2 separate regions of the Homo sapiens genome follow, and region 1 is linked to region 2. The links are contacts of gene promoters, found by promoter capture Hi-C in blood cells and fetal thymus (Javierre and others, 2016). All regions are on one chromosome and are shown on one strand. Each heading gives the region's core, a stretch centred on a gene start or on the middle of the fragment in contact. The rest is flanking DNA. Distances are from core to core; before and after follow the strand shown.

What was found. Contacts are between HindIII fragments. The CHiCAGO score rates a contact against its expected background, and 5 or more counts as called.
Region 1: a fragment that was not itself captured here is called in contact with the fragment with the promoter of CXCL8 in region 2 in 1 of 17 cell types (neutrophils); the score reaches 7.9 in neutrophils.

What each region holds. Positions count from the first base shown.
Region 1 is chr4:73,790,212-73,797,442 of GRCh38, reverse strand. No RefSeq gene overlaps it. Among named protein-coding and RNA genes, the nearest start is that of CXCL6, 43 kb to the left of the region's middle. The HindIII fragment of the contact is 846 bases long and covers 4,337-5,182 here.
Region 2 is chr4:73,737,545-73,744,351 of GRCh38, reverse strand. It overlaps CXCL8 (C-X-C motif chemokine ligand 8), which reads right to left and starts at 3,783. Exons shown (of 4, transcript NM_000584.4): 1 at 3,630-3,783; 2 at 2,675-2,810; 3 at 2,320-2,403; 4 at 636-1,903. The coding sequence starts at 3,693. The coding sequence ends at 1,888. RefSeq lists a silencer at 5,026-5,320. The HindIII fragment of the contact is 2,023 bases long and covers 3,755-5,777 here.

The DNA of each region.
Region 1 (7,231 bases), core at 3,510-6,009, 52 kb before region 2:
CTTGAGAAAATGGTTGATTCTCAAACTATAGCATAAAACATACTACATAAGCCAGAAGTACCTTGTAGTTCCAGGAACCATGAGCCACAGCACTGGGTGGGTGTTCAAGGTTAACGTCAATTGTAATAAATCATATTGACATGATAAAGATGACATAATATCTTTGATGTGATGTAACGAGTATATGACTTCTTATCTCTATGGGTTTCTTCTCCAAACCCAAAAATTCTAGCCTAATTATGAGAAAAATATCAGATAAATCTTTTTTTTAACTTTAGGGAGAAAATTTTGTATTTTTAAAACTTGCATAAAAGTTATGCAAGTTTTGCCAGGAGCGGTGGCTCACGCCTATAATCCCAGCACTTTGGGAGGCAGAGGCGGGCGGATCACGAGGTCAGGAGATCGAGACCATCCTGGCTAACACAGTGAAACCCCGTTTCTACTAAAAATACAAAAAATTAGCTGGGCCTGGTGACGGGCGCCTGTAGTCCCAGCTACTCTGGAGGCTGAGGTAGGAGAATGGCCTGAACCCAGGAGGCGGAGCTTGCAGTGAGCGAAGATCGCGCCACTGCACTCCAGCCTGGGCGACAGAGCAAGACTCCGTCTCAAAAAAAAAAAAAAAAAAAAAAAAAGTTATGCAAGTTTTTTGAATTATACTTTAAGTTCTCAGATACATGTGCAGAACGTGCAGGTTTGTTACACAAGTATATACGTGCCATGGTGGTTTGCTGCACCCATCAACCCGTCATACACATTAGGTATTTTTCCTAATGCTAGCCCTCCCCTAGCTCCCCAACCCCTCGCAGGCCCTCGTGTGTGATGTTCTCCTCCCTGTGTCCATTTGTTCTCGTTGTTCAACTCCCCCTTATGAGTGAGAGCATGCGGTGTTTGGTATTCTGTTCCTGTGTTAGTTTGCTGACAATTATGGTTTCCAGCTTCGTCTATGTCCCTGCAAAGGACATGAACTCATCCTTTATATGGCTAAATAGTATTCCATGGTGTATATGTGCCACATTTTCTCTATCCAGTCTATAATTGATGGGCATTTTTGTTGGTTCCAAGTCTTTGCTATTGTGAATAGTGTTTCAATAAACATATGGGTGCGTGTGTATTTATAGTAGAACGATTTATAATTCTTTGGTTATATACCCAGCAATGGAATTGCTGGGTCAAATGGTATTTCTGGTTCTAGACCTTGAGGAATCACCACACTGTCTTCTGCAATGGTTGAACTAATTTACACTTCCACCAACATTGTAAAAGCAATCCTATTTCTCCACATCCTATCCAGCACTCGTTGTTTCCTGACTTTTTAATAATCACCATTCTAACTGGCATGAGTTGGTATCTCATTGTGGTTTTAATTTGTATTTCTCTAATGACCACTGATAATGAGCTTTTTTTTTCATATGTTTGTTGGCTGCATAAATGTCTTCTTTTGAGACGTGTCTGTTCATATCCTTCACTCACTTTTTGATGGGCTGTTTGTTTTTTTCTTGTAAGTTTGTTTAAGTTTTTGTAGCTTCTAGATATTAGCCCTTTATCAGATAGATAAATTGCAAAATTTTTCTCCCATACTGTAGGTTGCCCATTCACTCTGATGATAGTTTTTTTTGCTGTGCAGAAGCTCTTTAGTTTAATTAGATCCCATTTGTCAATTTTGGCTTTTGTTGCCATTGCTTTTGTTGTTTTAGTCATGAAGTTTTTGCCCACGCCTATGTCCTGAATGGTATTGCCTAGGTTTTCTTCAAGGGTTTTTATAGTTTTAGGTCTTGCATTTAAGTCTTTAATCCATCTTGAATTAATTTTTGTATAAGGTGTAAGGAAGGGGTCCAGTTTCAGTTTTCTGCCTATGGCTAGCCTGTTGTCCCAACACCATTTATTAAATAGGGAATCCTTTCCCCATTTCTTGTTTTTGTCAGGTTTGTCAAAGATCAGATGGTTGTAGATGTGTGGCATTATTTCTGAGGCCTCTGTTCTGTTCTATTGGTCTATATATATGTTTTGGTACCAGTACCATGCTGTTTTGGTTACTGTAGCCTTGTAATATAGTTTGAAGTCAGGTAATGTGACGCCTCCAGCTTTGTTCTTTTTGCTTAGGATTGTCATGGCTATACCGGTGCATTTTTGGTTCCATATGAAATTTAAAGTAGTTTTTTTTTTCTAATTCTGTACAGAAAGTCAATGGCAGCTTGATGGGGATAGCACTGAATCTATAAATTACTTTGGGCAATATGGCCATTTTCATGAGATTGATTCTTCCCATCCATGAGCATGGAATGTTTTTCCATTTTTTTGTCTTCTCTCTTATTTCCTTGAGCAGTGGTTTGTAATTCTTTTTGAAGAGGTCTTTTACAACCCTTGTAAGTTGTATACTTAGATATTTTATTCTCTTTTTAGCAATTGTGAATGGGCCTTCACTCATGATTTTGTTCTCTATTATTGGTGTGTAGGAATGCCTGTGATTTTTGCACATTGATTTTGTATCCTGATACTTTGCTGAAGTTGCTTATCAGATTAAGGAGATTTTGGGCAGAGACGATGGGGTTTTCTAAATGTACAAGCATGTCATCTGCAAACAGAGACAATTTGACTTCCTCTCTTCCTATTTGAATACCATTTATTTCTTTCTCTTGCCTGATTGCCCTGGCCAGAACTTCCAATACTATGTTGAATAGGAATGGTAAGAGAGGGCATCCTTGTCTTGTGTGGTTTTCAAAGGGAATGCTTACAGGTTTTGCCCATTAAGAATTATATTAGCTGTGGGTTTGTCATCTATAGCTCGTATTATTTTGAGATATGTTCCATCAATACCTAGTTTATTGAGAGATTTTAGCATGTAGTGGTGTAGAATTTTATCTAAGGCCTTTTCTGCATCTATTGAGATAATCATGTGGTTTTTGTCATTGGTTCTGTTTATGTGATGGATTATGTTTATTGATTTGAGTATGTTGAACCAGCCTTGCATCCCAGGAATGAAGCTGACTTGATCATGGTGGATAAGTTTTTTAATGTGCTGCTGGATTCACTTTGCCAGGATTTTATTGAGGATTTTTGCATCAATGTTCATCAAGAATGTTGGCCTGAAATTTTCTTTTCTTGTTGTCATTGTGTCGCTGCCAAGTTTTGGTATCGGGATGATCCTGGCCTCATAAGATGAGTTAGGGAGGAGTCCTTCAATTTCTATTGTTTGGATGTTTCAGAAGGAATGGTACCAGCTCCTCTTTGTACTTTTGGAAGAATTCAGCTGTGAATCTTTCTGGTTCTGGGCTTTTTTTGGTTGGTAGGCTATTAATTACTGCCTCAATTTCAGAACTTGTTATTGGTCTATTCAGGGATTTGACTTCTTCCTGGTTTAGTCTTCGGAGGGTGTAATTGTCCAGGAATTTATCCATTTCTTCTAGATTTTCTAGTCTATTTGCATAGAGGTGTTTATAGTAAGCTCTGATGGTAGTTTGTATTTCTGTGGAATCAGTGGTGATATCCCCTTTATCATTTTTTATTGTCTGTTTGATTCTTCTCTATTTTCTTCTTTATTAGTCTGGATAGCAATCTATCTATTTTTTTAATCTTTTCAAAAAACCAGCTCTTGGATTCGTTGATTTTTTGAAGGGTTTTTTGTGTCTCTATCTCCTTCAGTTCTGCTCTGATCTTAGTTATTTCTTGTCTTCTGCTAGCTTTTGAATTTGTTTGCTCTTGCTTCATTAGTTCTTTTGTGATATTAGGGTGTCAATTTTAGATCTTTTCTGCTTTCTCTTGTGGGCATTTAGTGCTATAAATTTCCATCTTAACACTACTTTAGCTGTATCCCAGAGAGTCTGGTACATTGTGTCTTTGTTCTAATTGGTTTCAAATAACTTCTTTATTTCTGCCTTAATTTCGTTATTTACCCAATAGTCACTCAGGAGCAGGTTGTTTAGTTTCCATGTAGTTGAGTGAGTTTCTTAATCCTGAGTTCTAATTTGATTGCACTGTGGTCTGAGAGACTGTTGTTTGTTATGATTTTCATTTTTTTGCATTTGCTGAGGAGTGTTTTGCTTCCAATCATGTGGTCAATTTTAGAATCAGTGCGATGTGGCACTGAGAAGAATGTATATTCTGTTGATTTGGGGTGGAGAGTTCTGTAGATGTCTATTAGGTCTGCTTGGTCCAGAGCTGAGTTCAAGTCCTGAATATCCTTGTTAACTTTCTGTCTTGCTGGTCTGTCTAATACTGACAATGGGGTATTAAAATCTCCCACTATTATGGTGTGGAAGTCTAAGTCTTTTTGTAGATCTCAACATTCTTAAAGAAAATTATTTTCAACCCAGAATTTCATATCCAGCCAAACTAAGCTTCATAAGTGAAGGAGAAATAAAATCCTTTACAGACAAGCAAATGCTGAGAGATTTCATCACCACCAAGCCTGCCTTAGAAGAGCTCCTAAAAGAAGCACTAAATATGGAAAGGGAAAACCGGTACCAGCCACTGCAAAAACATACCAAATTGTAAAGACATTCAACATTATGAAGAAACTGCATCAACTAAGGGGCAAAATAATCAGCTAGCATCATAAGGAGAGGATCAAATTCATACATAACAATATTCACCTTAAATTTAAATGGGTTAAATGCCCCAATTAAGAGACACAGACTGGCAAATTGGTTAAAGAATCAAGACCCATTGGTGTGCTGTGTTCAGGAGACCCATCTCATGTGCAAAGACACACACAGGCTTAAAATAAAGGGATGGAGGAATATTTACCAAGCAAATGGAAAGCAAAAAAAAAAAAAAAAAAAAAAGCAGGGGTTGCAATCCCAGTCTCTGATAAAACAGACTTTAAACCAACAAAGATCAAAAAAGACAAAGAAGGGCATTACATAATGGTAAAGGGATCAATGCAACAAGAAAAGCTAACTATCCTAAATGTATATGCACCCAATACAGGAGCACTCAGATTCATAAAGCAATTTCTCAGATAAATCTTAATTGAGATACATGCTACAAAATGCATGACCAGTACATTGATTTAGGGACTTCAGTTAGTCATAGTTATCAATATTGTCCTATTAATTGTGACAAAATACACCCTGCCAATGTAAAATATTCTTTTAATAGGGGAAAATCAGAGGTAGGTATATGAAAATACCCTGTACCATCTTCACAATTTTCTGTAAACCTAAAACTGTTTTAAAATTAAGCTTATAACATATTTCAAAAGGAAGAGAACTTTAAAAACCTAGTATTCTTAAAGAGATTAAGGAAGATATTTTATAATAAAAAAAGGAATGCTGTGAGGAAGGATCAATTAGGGGACAAAAATAAGTTCTTAGGAATTTTAAATATGGTAAGTGAAGTAGTGAATTTTATACAAAGTTTGAAACATAAAACAAATATCTAAGAAAGTAGAAATAAGTATAACAGATGGATAATATAAGAAAAATGAAAATAAACATGGAAAATGACACCAATTACTAATATGTTATAGAAAAAAGAATAGAGAAAAATAGAAAGCAAGACATTCTCAAAGAAATAATAGAGAATTTTCCTGATTTGAAGGTTGAATTTTCAATCTGAAGCAGTTCTGCAAGTGTTCTGTAAAATCACACACACACACCCCCACACAGCTGAGTACATCATTAGAAAATTTAGAAAGTCTAGTTAAAAGTTTCCTTTTGGAAAAACCAAATCACTATGAAGAATAATCATCAGACTGGGATCATCTTTGTCATCAGCAACACTTAAAAGGCAGAGGAAGCTCTGAAGTAATATAATTTTCAACCTAGAATTCTATATCCAGAAAAACTACCAATCATGTGTTAGGGTAGAAGAAAAAACCACTTTCAGATATGTGAAAGCTCAGAAAATTCTCCTTTACAATCTTCCTTAGGAAGTTCTCTGAAGATATGTGTCAACAAAACAAGTAAATAAGCCTATAATGAGGGAAGACACATGTTCCAGCAAATAAAAAGTTCAACCAGGGAATAAAATAGACAGAGAAAAACCTGAGTTGAGGGGTCCTGGATCACTGGTCTTTGGGAAAATATAATAGTTAAATTAAAAAAAGAAGGATAAAATAGTTTTAATTGGAAAATTAAATCAAAACTCTAAGTAAGCCAAAACCTGTAAAAGAAGAAATATTATGATCATATAATACTTCTGTCTTCAGTAAACAGTATTTTCATAGGTTAGGTAAATGCGGTTAATTATTTACAAATATTTCATATCAACAAGTCCAGATGACTTAATTATGATTATAGAACAGAAGTGGTAGACAAGTATAAGGGGACTGGATTATCAGTCATTATAGAGAAATTCCGCAGGGGTTAATTTCATATGTATAAGTAATTTTTTAAAAACTTGGTTCAAACACAATATTTAGAGACATGGCATTCTCTACCAGAACAAAATAGCTAAAACATTTAAAAATACTTGTTATTGAGGGACTGAGTGTGGAAAGAAGTGATACGCTTTTATTATAAGATCTTCTTTAGTCTCAGTTTTTTAAATAATGTGTTTTCATGACATTAATAACATTTTAACATATTTTGATTAAAAATAAATTATATGTCAAGTTCAATTTAAGTATTTACAGATATTCCCTTTTTGCTTTCCCTAAGAATGCTATTATCTGTTTCTAAGTATTGAAGTGGTTTAAGTGTCAGCTATAAAGGAGACCACTAATTTTATACTTAACTGTTTAAAGAAATGCAGGAATCACTAAAAATCTGTGAAAGAAGTTTATTGCCAGATTTTTTAAAATCAATCAATTAATTGTATTGATACATAATAGCTGTACATATTTTTGCTGTACATGTGATAATTTGATATATTCATTTAATCAACTCAGTAATTAGAATATCCATCACTTTAAACATTTATTTTTCTTTGCAATAGGAATATTTGAATTATTCTCTTCTAGCTATTTTGAAATGTACAATCAATTAATGTTAATCATGATCATTCTACTGGTCTAAGAAACACTGGGTCTTATGTCTCCTATAAACAAGCATTCAAATAAATACAGTTCCTGAACTATTAAAACTTTGACTTCTGCACAACCACGTTCATAGCAGCATCATTCATAATAGTCAAAAGGTGGAAGCAACACAAATGTCCATGAATAGATGAATAAATAAACAAAATGTAATATATACATACAATGAAATATTATTTAACCATAAAATGCAAGGAAATTCACATGTATGCTACAACATGGATAAACCTTGAGGACCTTATGCCAAATGAAATA
Region 2 (6,807 bases), core at 2,534-5,033:
CTATTAGAGCTTACACCTGTATCCTCTACGCCTTTCGACTTCTTTCTCCAAATTTCTACCTCTTTATCTCTCTTATAAGAATTCCAGAAGTTCTTTGGTTCTATTTTCTAGTTTTCTAATTTTATTTTCAACTGTGTCTAATTTGTTATAAAATTTATCCACTGAAATTTGTTAATTAAATAATTATGTTTTTACTTCTCAGAGTATTGTTTGATTTGTTTGCAAATATGCTTAGGCTTTAACCATATTTTAAACTTCTTTGCCTCACATTTATCAGTTTTACTCCTCAGTTACTGATAAGCAACTTATAATATGTACTCTCTTTCCTCTTTAAATGTCCAGCTATGCTAAAGCGCACAGACATACAAACCGGTTAATCGAAATCTGAAGACAGACTTATTAGCAAGATAGTATACAGTGGGGAGTTGAAAACATTTCCAACATTCTGTGGAGGACACTACTGTTTGTAACCTATTTCTGGAAAGGAGTTCTGTTTTCTAAAAATAAAAGTTTGTAATTTTCCATAAACAAAATGCTAAGGGGAAGCATTTATGTTTTCTAAATCAAAGTATAATTTTAAATATAAACAAAGAGAATCCCAATAAGCTAAAACTAAAAAAAAGACAAACACTTGATTACTTTGACAACAAATTATATTTTAAATGTTTCATATTTACTTTTATATTTCCATACAATCAGAAACAGTAAAAAAAATTTGGAGAGCACATAAAAACATCTTAAAGTTAAAAATATAAAGCCTTGTATTTAAAAATGCAGTCATTTAAATAATATTATAAGAATCTATTTGTACATAATAAACAAGTTTCAACCAGCAAGAAATTACTAATATTGACTGTGGAGTTTTGGCTGTTTTAATAGTTCTAACTCATTATTCCGTAATTCAACACAGCACTACCAACACAGCTGGCAATGACAAGACTGGGAGTATCAAACTAGGATTGTTAGTTCAATTAAAATTTCAGATAAACAATAATGTACTTATACTAAAAAATTATTTGTTGTTTATCTGAAATGAAAATTTAACTGGGTACCCAATTGTTTGTTTGTTTAATCTAAAAACCCTGATTGAAATTTATCTAATAAAACATCATTTAATATCTAAAATAAAATAAATTTACTATAACATCTTTATAACTATTCAATCAATGATTCATCTTCTATTTTTCCAAATTCTTGCACAAATATTTGATGCTTAAATAAATACATAAATAATAAATAGGTTAATAAGTTACACTTGAAAATAATTTATGTTATGATGAAAAAACTTAAAGTGCTTCCACATGTCCTCACAACATCACTGTGAGGTAAGATGGTGGCTAATACTTTTTCCACTTAGAAATAAAGGAGAAACCAAGGCACAGTGGAACAAGGACTTGTGGATCCTGGCTAGCAGACTAGGGTTGCCAGATTTAACAGAAAAAAATCCAGGATTTCCAGCTAAATTTGACTTTATGGCAAAATTTATTGTCCCATCATTTTTATGTGATGCTTCAAATATCACATTCTAGCAAACCCATTCAATTCCTGAAATTAAAGTTCGGATATTCTCTTGGCCCTTGGCCTCAATTTTGCTATTTGTATATTCTCCCGTGCAATATCTAGGAAAATCCTTATATTTAAAAATTATTTGTTGTTTTTTGTAGATTCAAATAAATAATACTTTACATATAAGTATGTTCTGGATATTTCATGGTACAATGAAAAACTATTCATTGTTTACTGAAATTCAAATTTAACCAGGAATCTTGTATTGCATCTGGCAACCCTACAACAGACCCACACAATACATGAAGTGTTGAAGTAGATTTGCTTGAAGTTTCACTGGCATCTTCACTGATTCTTGGATACCACAGAGAATGAATTTTTTTATGAATTCTCAGCCCTAAAATAAAATTAAAAATATAAAGATGAGCTATGTTTAATAAGAAGGAAAGTAGGGTTCTTGAAAAGTCAATATAGTCTTTGACATTCATGTGTTAGAAATGCTCTATATTCTCAACTATAAATAGGGAGATCAAAGAAATTATCATCTAAAATAGGACACTACTGGGAGTGACAAAGAACTTTACTAAGAGTATAGGACACAAGCTTAAACCCAGAATTTCCTGGGCAAACTATGTATGGTCTTTCTGGTCATGAGTACAACAAACTCACTATTGATGCTATTCCTTTTTTTTTTAACCAAAAAGGCAGATACCTAATGACGATTTTTAGCAACAGAAAGAAATTTATAGGCTGACTTTGGATTATATGTCTCAGGATAAATGAAAAATTTAAATTAAAAAATATATAACTTACCTCTTCAAAAACTTCTCCACAACCCTCTGCACCCAGTTTTCCTTGGGGTCCAGACAGAGCTCTCTTCCATCAGAAAGCTTTACACTGAAATAAGAAAGAAATGGTTCAGATTAATATTTAGTTTTTGCATTCAAATCATGATTCCTTAAGTCAGGCATAAAGTCTAAGTCCAAAATAACATTTATAGTAGTTGTGGAAGCTACCATATTTAAATGTCATGTAGACAAATATTTTTATTTTGTTTTGTTTCATTTACTACTGTAATCCTAACACCTGGAACTTTCCTAAATATTTCCACCTTCCTTAATTTTAAGTTTGCTAAAACAAAATATCTAATCTTTTTTAAAGTACTTACATAATTTCTGTGTTGGCGCAGTGTGGTCCACTCTCAATCACTCTCAGTTCTTTGATAAATTTGGGGTGGAAAGGTTTGGAGTATGTCTTTATGCACTGACATCTAAGTTCTTTAGCACTCCTTGGCAAAACTGCACCTGTTGGGGGAAAAAGTGATTAAGGATTGATTTTATCAACAGGCACAGCTCTGCCAGCTACTTCCTTTCTAATTCCAATATGATTATTTGGAGACTATGGAAGGCATCATGTTTCTAGTGAACTCATTCCTGAATATTCTCCTAGCCCTTGACCTCAGTTAGTTCTTTGTTTTAAAAAACAGTCATAACTGACAACATTGAACGACTTCCTATATAAAGAGTTAGAGTTCTTTTTGTACAATATCAACATCTTCATGGTATTTTTATCTGGTCAATATTGCATAATCCTCTGTGATACCACAGTGTTATTTATAGTAGGCAAGCTAAGACTCTCCAGCATAGAAATTGCCTTCAGAAAGAATTAACAGAAATATATAAATAAGTTATACATGCCTGGTCTATAATCAGGGTATCTTTAAACCAGACAGGAATTAATGACAAATCTGAGGCTTGTCAATGAAATACTACAAGGAGTGGAATTGTCTGAGTTACCTTGCTCAACTCAATATTAATACATAATATAGGTAACCGTGGTTCTCAATAGGACATACTATAAATTACTTATTTACGTTAAATATATGCATGCTACATGGTATAAATTATAAAAGCAGAATATCTATATTGATCAAACTTTATACTTTCCTAAGTGTTATATATAGTTTTTTCTAAATCTTCAATTTAACATTAATTGACTGCTAAGATTATATTCTGTTTCTGAATAAAAAGGATGTTTGTTACCAAAGCATCAAGAATAGCTTTGCTATCTAAGGATCACATTTAGACATAGGAAAACGCTGTAGGTCAGAAAGATGTGCTTACCTTCACACAGAGCTGCAGAAATCAGGAAGGCTGCCAAGAGAGCCACGGCCAGCTTGGAAGTCATGTTTACACACAGTGAGATGGTTCCTTCCGGTGGTTTCTTCCTGGCTCTTGTCCTAGAAGCTTGTGTGCTCTGCTGTCTCTGAAAGTTTGTGCCTTATGGAGTGCTCCGGTGGCTTTTTATATCATCACCCTACTAGAGAACTTATGCACCCTCATCTTTTCATTATGTCAGAGGAAATTCCACGATTTGCAACTGATGGCCCATCCCCTCAGGGCAAACCTGAGTCATCACACTTCCTATTTGTTCCTTATCAAATACGGAGTATGACGAAAGTTTTCTTTGATCTTTAAAATAATTTAATTTTAATATACATTTAAAATACTGAAGCTCCACAATTTGGTGAATTATCAATTGTATGCTTTTTTATTTCTAGATAACTTTATCATAGTACCATGTGACAGATATAGTACTAGAGTGGCAGGTGTTAGAACAAGATCATGGATGATTTTCTTTTAATGGCATAATTATTTTTTTTCAGTTAATTACAGATGCTATCATGATGGTGAAGATAAGCCAGCCAATCATTTTATTGGGGAGGTAATTTAAAATAAATCTTTTTCTAAGCATTTTAGAGAGTTTCTAGGAACTGTTACTGCTCTTAGGGGGCATACTACAACTTTTCAAAAGATTTAGTTTTCTAATGCATGTTAACAGAGTGAAGGGGCACATGTGCTTCACATAGAAATCAGTTCCACAAACATTTATGGAGTAACTTTCTGAGTAATGTGGGGGATCTAGAAATAGATAAGACTAGGTACTTGTCCTTAAAGAGTTTGGTCTATCAGAAGAAGAAAGCAATGTAAGGACTGACTATATAGCAGAATAGACAAGTGGTACTAAGACATTAATTCCAGTGGAGGCATAAGAGCAGAATCTTCCAAAGGCAGTTGGAGCAAGGCATTGAGGAATAGGAGGGCTTCAATAGAGGAAGATGAAAGAGAACAGCACATTCCAGATAGGAACAGTATTCAAGGCCACTCAAGTTGTAAAGTTAAGGTATGTTTATGCTCCAGAAAGTGGTGCACTGGAGCTGCTTGGTTGGGGTGGGAGGGAGGTGTTATCTAATGGAAAGTTGTATGCTTAGTGGAAAGAGCATCTGGGTTCCAACTCTGGTTCAGCCACTGTTGCTTCATGCTCTTTATCCAAGGACACCAAGTCTGACCTCTGAGGACCCATGATCACTAGCAAAAGGGATGGAGTGAGAAATTTCAACAAATCATAAAAAGGTGGCTTTATGTCCTAGTGTCCTGAAGAAAAGAATCCAAGACCTTTCTTGAAAGGTCTTGGATTCTGTAGATAAAGAGCACCAAGGAAGGGTTCTTATGATAGTAAAAGTCTGTTCGCTTCTGGGCAAGTACATAATTTATAAATAATTCACCTTGGTGTAACAGTTCTTCATTTTCAGAAAGTACGACAGAGCAGTGAATTTGCCCACACTGTGAACACACTGTGGAGGGGGAATGCCATTTTCAAATGCTTTCCAAAAAGGTTTGTCTGTTTCTGCACAATCATGTTTCTTTTTGTTATCTTTCTCCAACCAACCTAAGACTTGAGGATAAAATAATGCCTGGGTTACACTGAATTCTATAGCAAAGTAAATGTTTATTCTATATAATGTAGCTCCTATAGTTTTCAACTGTAGTATTTCAGAAACTTCATTATTCATTTAATATGTGTTGTTTATCTGCTAATGTCCCTTATTGTAGGAGATGTGAATGCTATGTAAATAGATATAGTACCTGACTTAAAGGACTTTGTTGTCTAGTGCAGAATATGGAAAATTAGTTACACAAGTAAGTAAAATACAGTGATGAGTGTTACAATAACAGGTAATTACAGGAAGTTCTGGAATCAAACAAACATGATCTTTGAGGCAGTTTTGATGAATGAAGGTTTTCTGAAGAAACAACATCAAAAGTGTTACCTTTATTGTTAATGAGGAGAAGAAAGACCAATGGGACTGCTTTGCTAGTACAGGACAGGAAGTACAGGACAATGAAATGTAGGCGAACATGGCCCATTTGGGTTTCTCAAACTATTTAGCATACGGAACACAGTGCATGGAGTGACAAGAAGAGAAAGCTTGGGCCGGATAGGTAAAAAAGACCTATATCTTAAAGAAAACTCCAAGTTTCTTTGCTTCAGTGATGTTGGCATGTTTAGCAAAGACACATTCTCATATGGACACAACCTGGCTTGACTGATTCAGTTCACTATCATTAAGACTCACTCATACAGCATCACTAAGACATTCAGAGTTCTGAGGATGTGCAAAGACTTCTTTGCTTTTCCCTAACGGTTGCCTTTGTATTTATGGTGAGCCCAACTTACATAGACACCTCGTTTTCCTCCTTATTTTCATGTCACTATATCTCCCTCTCATTCTCTTCTCATGGGCCCAACTTTATCCTGATATCATCCTTAAAGTTTGAGCTAATGAGGTCTACTTAACCTTGATGCTCACATTTTTTTTTAAGAATGAAGCCTTTCCAAGGCAAAAAGACCTCTTTTGCAAATGTTGTTCATCTCTCACAATGTAACCTTCAGTGCATTATGTCCTAGAACCCTCTCCATCAGAAGTGGGAATGGACAAAGATGAAGTGACTACAAGAGCATTGATTCTATCTTGTCTCACTTCTGTAAAGATAACCATTTGAGTCCTTGCATAATGAGTAGAAGGACTAAATGGGCTTAGGCGGAAAAAAAAAAGCAGGACTAAGTATCCTTTTTAAGGATATTCTGCTTTAAAATAGAGCAAAGTGGGGTACAAAGTTTAACTAAAGTGCCACGCTACACATAAATACAAATGTTTTGTCATCTTCTAGAGATGAATGCAAAGTGAGTTCATGAGACTTAACTGTTTATTTACGTCCCATTCGGCTCCTGAGCCATAAGAATCATTTGATGAGCAGAGACTAGCACCTAGATATCCTCATTAGACGTTGACGAAGTCTATCACCCAAGAAAAGGAAGAGTTCAAGAAAGAACAAAGACGGCCGGGCGCGGTGGCTCAAGCCTGTAATCCCAGCACTTTGGGAGTCCGAGGCGGGCGGATCACGAGTTCAGGAGATCCAAACCATCTTAGCTAACACGGTGAAACCCCGTCTCTACTGA